Linked DNA regions of Homo sapiens: region 1 is linked to region 2. Evidence: promoter capture Hi-C in 16 types of primary human blood cells and fetal thymus (Javierre and others, 2016). All regions are on one chromosome and are shown on one strand. Each heading gives the region's core, a stretch centred on a gene start or on the middle of the fragment in contact. The rest is flanking DNA. Distances are from core to core; before and after follow the strand shown. Region 1 overlaps PDIA5 (protein disulfide isomerase family A member 5). Region 2 holds the start of FBXO40 (F-box protein 40).

Region 1 (7,393 bases), core at 3,669-6,168, 1.5 Mb before region 2:
AGAAAAATGAGCAAAGTGTATGAATAGGTGGTCCATGGAAGAAACATGAAAAGCTGATTATCACATGAAAAGATGTCCAGCTTCCCTAGAGGTCAGATAGCTGCAGACAAGTTGCTGTTTTGCCGAGCTTAGCAGAAATATAAAAGGCAGATAGTATCCATGGCTGCAAGGACAAAGGCTCTGTCACCCGCTGGGTTTGGGAAAACCTTTCTGTAGGGCAATTTGGTAGCATCTGCCAAAGCTCAAGCTTACTTACCCCAGGGCCAAGGAAATTCACTTTTAGGAATTAATCAAAAATATTTACACATTTTCCCAATTATATATGTTTACCAATGCTCACTGTATTGTTTGAATAGTGAAAAACTGGAGATAAATACAATACCTATCAGTAGGGGAATGGTTTAAAATTTCTGGCATATCCAAATTATAAAATACTATTCAATGGTTAAAAAGATTGAGGTAGATTTATGTGCCAATATCTACATTTACATGAAAATATCTTCGAGACCTATTGACAAGTTAAAAAAAGCAAATCACAGAAGAATGGATAGGAAGTAGTCCTACTTATGTTAAAAAACAAAAACAAAAAACCCAACCCCCTTTTTTTTTTTTTTTTTTTTTTTTGTCTTGTCACCCAGGCTGGAGTGCAATGGCATGATCTCGGCTCACTGCAACCTCTGCCTCCCGGGTTCAAGCAATTCTCTTGCCTCAGCCTCCCAAGTAGCTGGGACTACAGGCGTGCACCACCATGCTCTGCTAATTTTTGTATTTTTAGTAGAGACAGAGTTTCACCATCTTGGCCAGGCTGGTCTCGAACTTCTGACCTCATGATCCACCCGCCTTGGCCTCCCAAAGTGCTGGGATTACAGGCGTGAGCCACCATGCCCAGCCAACCAACCCCCTGTTGTTTAGGTAGAAGCACTGCGGAAGGAGAAGGAAGGATCCATCCTCTACTGTGAGTGGTGACCAGCCCTGAGAAGGGGCACGGCGTGGAGAGTGAGGGATTTTCACTGTCTGCACTATATTCTTATGTATCCCTTGAACCTTGCACTGCTGATAACAAGAATGCTGTTAATATTATTCTTAAATTATTTGTGCAATTAGAAAATACAAGTGGCCAAGTGCAGTGGCTCATGCCTATAATCCCAGCTGCTTGGGAGGCCGAGGCAGGAGAATCACTTGAGCCCAGGAGTTCAAGACCAGCCTGAGCAACATAGGGAGACTCCATTTCTACAAAAAGAAATCCAAAAAATTAGCCAGGTGTGGTGGCCCGTGCCTGTAGTCCCAGCTACTCAGGAGGCTGAAGTGGAAGGATCATTTAAGCCCAGGAGTTTGAGGCCAGCCTGAGCAACATAGTGAGACCCTGTCTCTAAAAAAAGAAAAGAAAAAAAACAGAAATAAATAAATGAATAAAATAAAATGACAGCATGAAGGCCCTTCGTGGCATGATAGTTACACAAATCTATACATGTGATTAAAAAAAAAAAAAAGGTCGATTTTATGGTATCCTCTTTTAAAAAATAAAAGTTAAAAATAAGACCAAAAAAATGAAAAAGACTAGCAAGAATGATGCCAAAAAGTAAAAAAAAAAAAAAAAAAAAAAAGTTGTTACCTCTGGATAATGGGGATTATAGGTAGTTTCTTTCCTTAATCACCTATATTTTACTATACCTTCTAGATTTTCTACAAAGGTTATATATTGCTTTGAGAATAAGACAAAAATACAGTTAAAAGCTTAAAAAAAAAGATGACAGCAGAAAATCTTGAGTCTGATGGGGACCTGCTGCCAGAAACAGCCCGGCTCCTGGAAGGCAGTGCAGATACATGCTGGAGGCAAGATATGGCAAAGAAAACATCCCATCTCAGACCTGTTGCTAAGGAAAATGGGTCGATGAGTCAGGGGGTAGGCAAGGGTAGAGCCACGTGGCCCCCAAGAAGCCCTGTAGCACAGGGGAGAGGAAGAGCAGGGGGTCCTCAGGATCCCCAGAACCTGCATGGGTGTCCACAGGCCTAGGAGAGACGAGCTGCTCAGGAACACCCCTCTCTGGGATGCCCCCCTTGCTCCCCTGAACATCCCCATATAAATGATGTCTACTCAGGTAGTGCCACAGCAGCTTGTCCTTCCCCTGCTAATGCAGACCTGAAGTTACTAGAGAGGGACAAAAAACAGTGACAAGAGGAGATGAGTGGCCACACACACTCTGACTTCTCTCATATGGAACGCCGCAGAAAAACACAAACAAAAAGGTGCCACGGGTGGCAGCAGCCACTGTCCTCCTGACACACCATTTGCAGAGAGCATCTCCGTCGCCTGCAGGGTGGGAAAACCGGGCCTGGGGCTGCATGTGAGGCCCCACTGTGAGGACCAGAGGGAGGTCAGGCACGAAGCCTTGCTACAAACGGGAAGCCAAGTGCTAGCAAGAGAGGCGGCTCCTGGCCTTGGGTCCAGGCAGCACCACAGACACACCCCTCTCAGAGCCCTCTGCTCACACTCGGCCTGTCCTGCCCAGGAGGCCCGGCCCAGCTCCTGGGGGACAGGGCTGTGGGGCAAACCTGGCTGTAAATCTCAGTGTGGCCTGTGGCAGAATAGAGATCGCCCATATGAAGGGCCTAGCACCGTGGCTGCCCTGGGCTCATTTATTTAGTGACAACTTAGGCATCAGTTGGAGAGGCCACTGAAGTATCTGTGGAGGGTTTCTAATGGGCTCTTGCTGGGAGAGAGAGGGAAGAAAGACAATGGGGAGATGGGGGCAGATGAGGTGGGAAGTGAGTGGCAGGAGTGCTGGGAAGAGGGTAAAGGAGCAGGGCCCATGGTGTCTCCAGGTCAGTCATCACTTACGGTGATGGGTAACACAGAACGGGGAGGGGTGCCGTGTGCCTTTCCTGCTGAGAGCCCAGCAGGGCAGCCTCACAAGCATCCCATCAGTTCCAGGCAGAGAAGCAAGTGCCTTGCCTCTGGAACCCACAGGTGCCAGAGAGCACCCCCCTGGGGTGGCACAGGTCAGAGGAAAGCTGAAGACCCTTTCCCTTCCTGGCCTTTCTAAGCAGGACCGGGAAAGAAACTAACATTGACTGGGTACTTACTACAGGCATAGAAGCAACAAAGCAGACCAGCCTGGGCAACAAAGTGAGACCCCGTCTTTACAAAAAATTTAAAAATTAGCCAGGTGTGGCGGTGTGCACCTGTAGTCCCAACTACACAGGAGGCTGAGGTGGGAGGATCACTTGGGTCCAGGAGGTCGAGGCTGCAGTGAGCTGTGTTTGTGCCACTGCACTCCAGCCTGAGTGACAGAGCAAAACTCTATGTCAAAAAAAGAAAGAAAAGAAAAGGAAAAGAAAAGAAAAGGAAAAGAAAAGAAAAGGAAAAGAAAAGAAAAGAAAACAAACAACACTGCAAAGAAAGACCAGGTTTTCTCTGGGAATCAGTATCAGGAAGCATTTTAATTTTCTTCTCTATACTTTCCTATATTATCCCTTGATAAAATGTACATGTATTACTTTTATAATTAGCATAGAGTCATAAAAAATAAATCAGCTTTTTAGTTTGAGCCCCACTATTTCGGTTTGTTGGGGTACTTCAAAATGTCAATGCATGGTCTGACATTTCAGCTGGTCAGCCTTTTCCCAAGGCTAACCCTGCCAAATGTGAAAGTATGCCTTTTTATAGCATTAACAAAGTTGCTGATTAAAAACAAGTACATACCCTCTAGACAGACTCAGGCCAGATTCACAGTCACAATGTATCCAGGGGATGCTTCCCCTCAGGGTAGCTCCATCCTGTCTGATTCTCCCCATCACAGTGAGGAAAACAGCAACTCATTTTGTCAAATGTCTTGATAAAAGAAAGACACGCTAATTCATCAAGCTCAGCAATCCTATCCCAAGAAACAAACCAAGCGGCGCATTCAGCGATCTGGAGTAGAAGCTGTGGTCTGCTATGTTGATGGATCCCAATTTGTTTCTGTGAGTCTCTAAAATGGTCTGTCTCCAAATCACTCCGTATTTGGCCTGGGACTGACACCTGGAACACTGTGATTTCCAGAATTCACCCTTTCTGCACTTAGGAAACGCAGGATGACACTGCTGGTCTCTGGCCTCTTGACATTTGTCCTTTACTCCAGGTCCCTCAAACACTGCAAAAGTGGTTTCTTGATCACTGGGGATTCTCAGAAGCACTCTGGCATGAGATACAAAGCCAGGCAGCTATGAGCTCTCTGCTCTCAGTTCACCTGTCCTGAGCTCCAAACTCCCTAAAGCATGTACATTCCATCCCTCCCTAGGCTAAAGACCATGCTCTTAATGAAGAAGTGTGTAGAAAGGGAATTAATCCAGAGCTATTACCATCCGACAGGAACATTGACGGGCAGTATATCAGGAAGCTAACCACATGCTTTTGCCCTGATCCCTCTCACTCTGCCAGCCCAGCAGAAATAAACCCACATGCGCACAACCATGAATGCCCAGGGGACTGGTGACCTCTCCCAACCCTAACTGGAAGGACAGACACATGGGGATGAAGACCCTGGAGGTTCCCAAGGAGGAACTGGAAACAGCCAGCCAGTATCTGCTGTCACGGCTGGGACAGGGGTGCAAGGATGGTGATTTCGGCTCTAGATTCAACATCAATTCCTGCAAGACTCGCTTCCAGCAGCAGCTCTGAGGCTGGCCAGGGAGTGTATTTTATAGCTAGGAAGAGCACTGCAGTGCTACCTGGCTGGCCTCATGGCGGGCACTTTTTTGAGTACCTTTACCCTCGGGGATGCCCTCACCAAGGCCCTAGCAGACCTGAGGCAGACGCCCTTCATTGCGCTTCATCAGGAGAGGCCCACAAGACTAGAGGGTTTTTGAAACTTAGTTTTGGGGGCTTGTTTTGGTCTCTTTTCTAGGAACTCAGAAGAGCTATAGGAAACTATTCCTTTAGAGCTATTCCTTTAGAGTCCTTTAGAGCTATTCCTTTAGAGTCTCCTAAGAATTTAGCACTTGTAAGAAATAATGAGTTAGGAAAATCCATGGTAAGAGTATGTTTATGAGCAATTCCCAGGCTAGCCAAACTCATGGATACTGTGGGGGAAGGGGAGGCGGCCAGGAGACTGGGGCTCAGGCTCTGACCCTGTTCTTCCTGGAACCTAAGGCTCTTGAGGCCTGAAGCAGCTCAGGACTCACGGAGCCGTGGGTGGTCTATGTCATTTCTCTGTGTGACGGTCTCATCTGTAAAATGGGGCTAATTGTACTCACTTTGTGGCACGCTGGGTAAAACAAAAGATGACCCTTCAGGAAGACAATGTGTTACCACTGTAGGGTGACACACAACTGTTGGCATGAGGACCCTATGATTAAGAGGAGTAATAACATTTCCTCCTGATAGAATATGCCTCTATGGACTAACCATCCTCATGCACTGTGACCTCACGATTTCAGCCCTGCTCCATGAGGCACTGACCTCTTGCTTTTCCTCCACAATCTCTTACTCACAACACTCTGTGCCCACACCTGCCATCCCCTGGCTCTCACGCGGCCTTGTCTGCCTTCCCAGGGGCAGCCTTGTCCCTCTTGGAAACCACCTATGGTCAATTTTCCACTCTCCATGGGAGTAGGAAGACACTGCTCCAGAAAACTCCTGGGCCACAGGCCTTCCAGCCCTTATCGCAAGCACGTTTGATAGCATTTACAGGATTTTACTTCCTTGATTCACTGTGGTCATTTCAGAATGAGAATGCAATGAGGTGAAGCAGACAGAAGGCATTCTAGATGCTGGATGATCTGCAGCTCCAGCCTGGCCTCCCCATGCCCTCTCAGCTCCTGGGCAAGCACAGGCTCTCCTGGGGCCTCAGCCCGCGACCACTTGTAAGGTAAGAGGTGACTACTGCCCTAGATAATATCTTTTTTTTTTAAATTAAAAAATTGTTTTTAGAGACAGGGTCTTTTTTTTTGAGATGGAGCCTCGCTCTGCTGCCCAGGAGGGAGTGCAGTGGCACAATCTTGGCTTACTATAACCTCTACCTCCCAGGTTCAAGCGATTCTCCTGCCTCAGCCTCCCAAGTAACTGGGATTATAGGTGCACGCCACCACGCCCGGCTAATGAGACAGGGTCTTGTTTGGTTACTCAGGCTGGAGTGCAGTGGCACAATCACAGTTCACTGCAGCCTCAACCTCCCAGGCTCAAGCAATCCTCCCACCTCAGCCTCCTGAGTAGCTGGGACTACAAGTGTGCACCACATGCCCAGCTAATTTTTAATTGTTTGTAGAGATGGGGTCTTGCTATGTGGCCCAGGCTGGTCTTGAACTCCTGGCCTTAAACAATCCTCCTGCCTTGACCTCCCAAAGTGCTGGGATTATAGGTATGAGCCCCCATATGAGGTATCAGCCCTAATTTTATTTCCAGGCCCAGTCTGTTCTAGGTAACATCTCAGGGTGCTTCCAGCTTAATTTCTCCAATTCATGCTGACTGGGAGGAAGATGCTCAGAGCTAGGGGTGGTGGAGACTCACTGAGCTCTAGCTAAGGGACAAGTAAAGCCTGATCAGGACTTCTGTGTTGTTTCCATGGCAATGGGGGGTAGGCCATGTGCACTACGAGGGTGGGGACCTCGCCTGTCACCACTGCATCCCCTGGCTTAGCATGGGTCCTGGCATCCAAAAAATAAGTGCTTCCTGGGTTCACATTGCAAAGCGCCACACTCATCCTACTCTGAGAGAGGGGAGGGTGTGGAGGGGGAGGAGCAAAGTTCCACTCACATGGGGCGTGGAACATGACGAGGACAGAGGAGTGTTCCTTCACAAACTGGTCAAAGTCTTCATCGGTCAGGTGATAAACGGAGCCGCCCTCATCTGCCCAGGGAGTCTCAGGGACCTGGGGCTGTGGCGGCTGCGGACTGGAAGACCAAAAACAGGCAGAGCTCAGAGCAGGCCCTGGGGCCTTGGCAGCCCTTCTAATTCCAGGCCCCTGGACCCAAAGCTCCCCATGGGCTCGGGACGGCCCACTCCAGGGGCTCAGCCTTTAACAAACCAGAAACTGCCCTCATGGAGGTGCCGTGGGGTGAGTGGTGTGGCCCTGCCCACCTCCACCTTCCCCGCAAAGCCCCAGACAGGTACTTAGCTGATATCCTGTTACAAACAGTGGCTTCTGGCTACAGCTCTCTAGATAGCCTAAGAAATCTCACTTCCTCCTGGGAATCTAGGGGCTTGTTAGCTTTCTCAACCTATTTCAAACTTTCAGCAAACTGGAAAGAATAAATAGCAACAGTGAATGGTGACCTTTGGAAAAGCTCACTGTTGTGTTTAAAACTGCCCACTGGGCAGTGGAGGGGAGGAAGAGGGTACAGAGAGGAGGGGGTGAGGAGGAGAGAGAGAGGCCAGGTATCTCAGAAAGATCAGATCTAGGCCATGCAAGGGGAA
Region 2 (7,727 bases), core at 1,912-4,411:
GGGCAAACTTTTTAAAATGCAGATTCTGATCCAGTGGGACCAGGGTGAGGCCTGAGACTCTTTCCTTGTAACAAAATCCAGATGAAGCTGATGGTCTAAGGACCTCATTTTGAAAGGAAAGGGTCTGTTTTAACCTCCTTGTTTCCTAGAGGAGAAACTGAGGCTCTGAGAAGTGAAATGTCTTGCCTATGCTCCCAGAGTCTCTGGCTCTAGTCACGTGCTTTTTTTCTATTGTGCTTTGATGTTTTATTGAAAGAGTCTGTAGAAATCACAGCACCACACAAAGCTACCTGAGTGGTGACAGCCAAGGCATGTTGGCAGCTTAGATGGTACCAAGGGCAGAGTAGGACAAAGCGTGGAAGAAGGAGGAGGAGGTGGTGACCAAGTGTTGCTGGTCAACAAAGTCATGCTAACACGTATAGCAGGTGTATTTAAATCACTGACTCAAGCAAAAGAGAATGGGATTAACAAACAATAGTTTTAACATTCTTTTCTATAATTTTAAAGTTAGTAGGCAAACAGGGTTGATGTCAGGGAGATATTTTTAGGCAAGGGGCCCTCTCAGCACCCCTCACATGATGTCAGTAACTAAACTATTCTGCCTCCTCATGTGGCTGGCGCTGGCAATAATGATTTATTTCTGAGCTTTAACTTCAGTGAAAGTGACAAGGTTAAAAGTTAAAGGTCAAAGATTTTTTAACTCTTAACCTGTTAACCAGCCAATTAATTAGTTACTTTAATTATGCATTGTTGACCTGTTTCCCTGCTATGGAAATATTTAATTGTAGGGAAAGAAAATGTATAAAGATAATTATTAAAGTAATCTCTTTGCCTTCTTGAGATTTTAACACAATCACTTTGCTGAGGCTAATTCCCACATTGGGTTCCATAATCCTTGGCTTCGACGCTGCGATTCCAGTACCTTCACTGTATCCTAAAACAGAACCACCCTCTCCCAGATCCATTCCACTTCACAATCTGAAGTTTTCCACCTATACTAGAAATCTCTCTAACTTTATACTTATTAGTTATTGAATTAGCTAGTTAATTCTTATATCTGGTGCTTTTGTATCAGTACTATTCTATTAAATTACAGTTGCATTGGCCAAGATAGTGCTAAAGTAACTGGATTATCTAGGGGTAGCTGGGACTCAATCTGTCTGCTTGGTTACTTGTAAGCCAACACACCCTAGTTTCACCAGGACAGCATCCCAGCATACACCTTGGAGACCTTGGTGCTGTGGAGGCCCTGGAAAAATTAAATGAAGTTAGGTGATTATACACAGTGAATTTGCTTGTGCCCAGGAAACAGGCATAATGATAACCCAGACACCTATAGCAGAGTCTTGGGGTACATATGGAGGTTACAGAGACAGGCAGGAAGGAACCAGGAGTTAAGGTATCTGAATAGTTAGTTTAGGTCTCCTTTTACTTGGCATCGGTGGCTTTAGCCTGTACACATCAAAGGTCAGAGTGTACAGAATCCCTTTTGCTGCATAGGCCACTTCCCAGGATGTCCTTAGCTGAACTTTGAACCAGTGAAAAACAAGAAAATAAACACTGCTCCCTTACCTTGCCAATTTTTAGTGCATGCAACACTATACAGTTATTCCAGAAGCGAGAAACTATCTGTCTAAAGTTATAACTTTTGATACCTCAAGTATCATTAGTCATTTTACTTTTATCCCTCTGAATATGCAAAATTGTTCAAGCTTGTAACAATCTTTGGTTTTGGTGCATAAGCCTATATAAGTTTTTCAACTTGAGAAATATTTCACTTATATTTCATGGATGCATTTTGGACTCAAGAGAGCTGGGGAGAAGAGGGCCACACTTAGAGAATATTGTTGGCGAAAAAAAGGTGTTAAACTCTGCGGAGTTTGAATAGTATATACAGAAAATACAGTTGTGCTTATTAACCAGTAGTATGACACAGCAGACGAAATTTTAAGCTACATGAGAATGACTTGCAAGCAAACATAGCAAATGTTGACTGGAGAAAAGATCACAGCATTTAGACTTTAGAAAACAGAAATTCTGATCAGGCACAGCGGCTCATGCTTGTATTCTCAGCACTTTGGGAGGCCGAAGCGGGTGGATCACTTGAGGCCAGGAGTTCAAGACCAGCCTGGCCAACATGGTGAAACCCCATCTCTACTAAAAATACAAAAATTAGCCAGGCGTGGTGGCACAGGCCTGTAGTCCCAGCTACTCAGGAGGCTGAAGCAGGAGGCTCTCTTGAACCTAGAAGGTGGAGGTTGCAGTGAGCTGAGACTGCACCACTGCACTCCAGCCTGGGCAACAGAGTGAGACTCTGTCTCAAAAAAATAATAACAATGAATTAAATAAATAAATAAATAATAGAAATTCTGGGCCAGGCACAGTGGCTCAGACCTGTAATCCCAGCGCTTTTGGAGGCTGAGGTGGGCGGATCATTTGAGGCCAGGAGTTCAAGACCAGCCTAGCCATCAAGGTGAAACTCTGTCTCTACTAAAAAAATACAAAAATTGGCCGGATGTGGTGGCATGTGCCTGTAGTCTCAGCTACTCGGAAGGCTGAGGCAGGAGAATCACTAGAACCTGGGAGGTAGGGGCTGCAGTGAGCCAAGATGGTGCCACTGCACTCCAGCCTGGGTGACAGAGCAAGACTGTCTCAAAAAAGAAAGAAAAGGGAATAGAAATCCTGGATTCTAGGCCTTCCACTTGTTTCCTCACCACCTCCTCCACTTCCCCAGATCCCCCCACCCATCACCATGTTGTAACTTTACAGATATCATAACTACTCTTGTTGATTATAGAAGAAAGAACCTAAGCTGTCAGAAAGCAAGTACTCTACCTGCTCTTGAAATGGAAACAGAAATTTACACACGGCTGGATCTCATTCTCAGTGCCAGCCTTTCCCCCACATCTTTACATAACTAATTTGCTTAACAATCCTCTTCCACAGGACACAAAAGTGATATGCGGCTCAGCTTCATCTGCATATTCACCACTGAATGTCCTCGTCATGGTGCACCTGCTCCTGTTTGAATACTTACCTTAATGGAACAGGCTGAGTCAGCATCTGCTTGCACCTGAACCCTTGATTGCAAGTAAGCGGATTGCCGGGAGGTGGCTGGGTTGCATCAGCTGCAGTAGAGGACAGCGTTCTGTTGGGAAGGCAGGGAAAGGAGAGAAAACTTCAACAGAAATAGTCCAAGTGTTGCGAAGTTAAAAATAAAACGATATCACAAGGGGCAATGTGACCAGGCTCAGCTTACGACTTTTTCCTTCCCCTGTATTTATCAACACTCAGTCTCTACTGGAGTGGCATTTAGCAGGGGAAACTGAATGGGAAGTGAAGTTTTATATCAATAGGTTTTCTTTCCCTTGAGGAAGGAGGAAAATCCTTTTAAGAAGGATCATTTTCAAGGCCAGAACAGCCTCTCAGATTCCTGCATGTGCAGTCGGCAGGCCCAGCTGTGCTGAAGGAGGCTGGCACAGCCTTCAGGACTGGCTGCTGCTCTAATTATAACCATGCTCCTCACCTAAACCCATCACTGGCTGAAGCAGCAACTTGTGCAAATGACATGGTGTCCTGCTTCAGTTTCTCCTATCTCTTGTCGTGACAAGTAAGTGTCTGTCCTCCCCTGGTCCTTTCATCTTTCCTGGAAAAGGGAGAGTTTGTAATTCAGATACCAGGTGTAGAGTAAATCCAGTGTGAGAGAATTAGAGGTTGTAGGAGGCTTTAGCTGTCATTTAGTCCAGCTCCCTCTTTTTACAGATGAGGAGACAGAGATTCAGAAAAGGGAAATTGCTCATCCAAGGTCACACATCTCGTTAGTGGAAGAGCCAGAGGAAAGCCCCAGAGAGCTTGTTTAACTCTCAGTCTAGCGTTCTTTATCTTATCATCTTCAGATAAACTCATTCAGGATCTTGTGAGTGAAAAAAATATAGAATCCCGGCTTTGGTGTTTTCTTTTTCTTTTTTTTTTTTTTGAGACAGAGTCTCGCTCTGTTGCCCAGGATAGAGTGCAGTGGCGTGATCTCGGCTCACTGCAACCTCCACCTCCTGGCTTCAAGTGATTCTCCTGCCTCAGCCTCCTGAGTATCTGGGATTACAGGCACGTACCACCATACCTGGCTAATTTTTGTATTTTTAGCAGAGACGGGGTTTCACCATGTTTGTCACGCTGGTCTCGAAATCCTGACCTCATGATCCTCCCACCTCAGCCTCCCAAAGTGCTGGGATTAGGTATGTGATTTTGACAAATTTACTTAACCATTTTCTATTTCAGTTTTCCCCATTGTGAAATGGCGATGATACTTGGTGCGACCACAGGTAACTGTGTCAGTACACATAAGGCACATGAATGATATGTACCACATGCCAAGTGCTCCACAATGCCAGCTGTTATTTGAATGTATTTGAATGTATTTTGACTAACAGCAGATGTGCTAAATTTGGCTGTGATTAACAGCCATCGAATTAACCTTTCCCCTGGATTCTTCATACATATATGTCCTTGGAGGTAAACTTATTTGGAATGAGCAAATAGCAGTTGAAAATTGTAAAAAATTTCTACACTGATCTTGTATCTTGAAACTTTGCTGAACTGGTTTATTAGTTCTAATAGTTTTCTTGTGGATTCCTTAGGATTTTCAAGACCATGCCATCTGTTAACAAAAATATTTTAACTTCTTTCTTTGCGATTTGGATGCCTTTAACTTCCTTTTCTTGCTGTTTTTCCCTGCCTAGAACTTCCAGCACTATGTTTAACAAGAGTGGTGAGAGTGGCCACACTTCACTTGTTCCTGATCTTAGGGGGGAAGCATTCAGTCTTCCACCAATAAGTACAATGTTACCTGTGGATTTTTGTAGATGGCCTTTATCAAGTTGAAGGAGAGGAGTTTGATAGTTTGTTCTAGTTTGTTGAGTGAATCAAGAAAGAGTGTGGATCTTCATCAAATGCTTTTTCTGTGCCCAGCAAGATGATCATGTGGTTTTTGTCCTTTATTCTATTAATATCGTGTATTACATTGATGAATTTTTTTATGTTGAATCAATCTTCCATTCCTGAATAAACCCTACTTGGTCATGGTATCTATCCTTTTTATATGTTGCTAAATTTAGTTTGTTAGTATTTTATTGAGAATTTGTTTTTTCAAGTCAGATGCATAATGTGCCAATGTTGAAACAAGCTTCGAGGGTAGCACTCACACATCCACGTGAATGCCCAATCATCACATTCATGAACTACAAAAGGATCTTATTGAGGATTTTTGCGTCTATATTCAGAAGAGGTATTACAGGTTGAGTATCCCCAATCTGAAATCTGAATTCCAAAATGCTTTAAAATCCAAAATTATTTGAGTGCTGATGTGACACCACAAGAGGAAAGTTCCACACTTGGCCTCATATGGTGGGTCATAGTCAAAACGCACTCGAAACTTTGTTTCATCCACAGAGTTACTTAAAATATTGTGCAATTACCTTCAGGCTATGTATATAAGGTGTATATGAAACATAAATGAGTTGTGTTTAGGCTGGTGTCCCATCCCCAAGATATCTCATTATGTATGTGCAAATATTCCAAAAACTCCAAATCTGAAACGCTTCTGGTTCCAAGCATTTCCAATAGGGGATACTCACTATAATCTGTAGTTCCCTTATGGCGTCTTTGTTCAGCTTTGGTATCCAGATAATATCGATCTCATAAAATGAGTTCCCTCCTCTTTTGTTTTTTTTGGAAAAGTTTATGAAGGATTGGTGTTAATTCTTCTTTAAACATTTTGGTAGAATTTAGCAGTGAAGCCATCTGGGACTGGGCTTTTCTTTGTGGGAAGTTTTCAATTGTTAACTCAATCTCTGTGCTTGTTATAACTCTGTCTCAGTCTGTTTTTGTGTTGTTATAACAGAATACCTGAGACTGGGTAATTTATGAAGAGAGATTTATTTCTTACAGTTCTGAAGGCTGGGAAGTCTTCCAGTCTCAGACGGAAGATGGAGGGGCCACACCTGGCCAGGGCCTTCATGTTTCATCCTCCCATGGCAGAAGGAAGGGAGAGGAGGAGGTAAGAGAGAGAGAGAAAGATAGAGGTGGGGGTGGGGATAAAGATTTTGGGGAAGAAGAAGGCCGAACTCATCCTTTTATCAGGAACCCACTTCTGAGATAACTAACCCACTCCCACAATAATGGCATTAATCCATTCATGGGGGCTCTGCCTAGTAACCCTTAAAGGTCTCACCTCTCAAAGCTGTTGCTTTGGGGATTAAGTTTCCAACGCATGAGCTGTGGGGGACACATTCATACCATAGCAAGCTCTATTCACAACATCTATTTCTTGTGGAGTCAGATTTGGTATTCTGTGTCTTCCTAGGAATTTGTCCATTTCATTTATCTAATTTGTTGGCATTCAATTGTTCATAGTATTTCTTTCTAATAATTTTTATTTCTATAAGTTTGGTAATAAAATCTTGACTTTTGTTTCTGATTCTAGTAATTTGAGTCTTTTGAGGGGGTGGTCAATCTAGCTAAATGTTTGCCATTTTGTAGATCTTTTCAAAGAACCAGCTTTTGATTTCATAATTTTTTTTCTGTATTGCTTTTCTATTCTCTATTTCATTTATTTCTGTTCTAGGCTTTCCTTCTTTCTGCTTTCTTTGGACTGTTATTATCAATTATTGAGAATGTTCTATGAATATACCACATTATGACTATATATTAGTGAAGTTTTCTTAAGAATTTTAATTTTTGCTAAAATTTGCCTCATATATTTTTGGTATATGTTGTTAAGTATATTTAAGTTCAAAGTTATTATATATTTCAGGTTAGTTGTTCCTTTTGTTGTTGTCTAATATACTTCATTTCTAAAAAAACTGTTTTGGCCAGGTGAGGTAGCTCACACCTGTAATCTCAGCCCTTTGGGAGGCTGAGACGGGAGGATCACTTGAGCTCAGGAGTTTGAGGCCAGCCTGGGCAACATGGCAAAACCTGTCCCTACTAAAAATACAAAAATTAGCTGGGTGTGGTGGCGTACACCTGTAGTCCCAGCTACTTGGGAGGCTAAAGCAGGAGAATCATTTGACCCAGGAGGCGGAGGTTGCAGTGAGCCGAGATTGCACGGCCTGGGTGACAGAGCAAGACTCCATCTCAATAAAAAAGTTTTGCCTTGAAGTTTAATTTGACAGATATTGATAAAACTATGCCACTTCCTTCCTATGTAAAGCTACTTTTAAAAAATATGTATATAAGTATTTGAAGCTATAAATTTCCTTCTAAGCATTGATTTAGCTTCATCCCATGTTTTGGTTTGTTGTGCTTTTGTTTTTTTCAGTTAAAAGTGTTTTCCAATTTTACTCATGATTTCTTCTATTTATTTATTTATTGAGACAGTATCACTGTGTTGCTCAAGCTGGAGTGCAGTGGCACAGTCACAGCTCACTGCAGCCTCGACCTCTGTGGCTCAAGGGATGCTCTTACCTCAGCCTCTCGAGTAGCTGGGACCATGGGCTCTGGCCGTCATGCCCAGCTAATTTTTTATTTTTTGTAGACACAGGGTTTTGCCATGTTGCTCAGACTGTGATTACCTCTTTAACCACTGGTTATTTAGGAATGTGTTGTTTAATATCCACATATTTGTGAATTTCCCAAATTTTATTGATTTCTAATTTCGTTCCATCATGTTTGGAGAACACACTGCATAGTTTCAATCCTTGTGATTCTCCTGCCTCAGCCTCCCAAGTAGC

The links. The method cuts DNA at HindIII sites, captures the fragments that hold promoters and counts their contacts. A CHiCAGO score of 5 or more calls a contact.
Region 1: a contact is called between a fragment that was not itself captured here and the fragment with the promoter of FBXO40 in region 2, in 1 of 17 cell types (naive B cells). The highest score is 5.7, in naive B cells.

Annotation. Positions count from the first base shown.
Region 1 is chr3:123,129,957-123,137,349 of GRCh38, reverse strand. PDIA5 (protein disulfide isomerase family A member 5) reads right to left here. Exons shown (of 17, transcript NM_006810.4): 11 at 6,734-6,870. Among named protein-coding and RNA genes, the nearest start is that of MIR7110, 28 kb to the left of the region's middle. The HindIII fragment of the contact is 6,364 bases long and covers 1,737-7,393 here.
Region 2 is chr3:121,588,813-121,596,539 of GRCh38, reverse strand. FBXO40 (F-box protein 40) reads right to left here and starts at 3,161. Exons shown (of 4, transcript NM_016298.4): 1 at 3,038-3,161. ARGFX (arginine-fifty homeobox) reads right to left here. Exons shown (of 5, transcript NM_001012659.2): 5 at 5,918-7,727. It overlaps LOC124906360 (small nucleolar RNA U13), which reads right to left and starts at 5,246; the gene lies at 5,146-5,246. RefSeq lists enhancers at 2,489-3,140, 3,141-3,791, 2,605-3,804 and a silencer at 2,924-3,218. The HindIII fragment of the contact is 3,467 bases long and covers 1,715-5,181 here.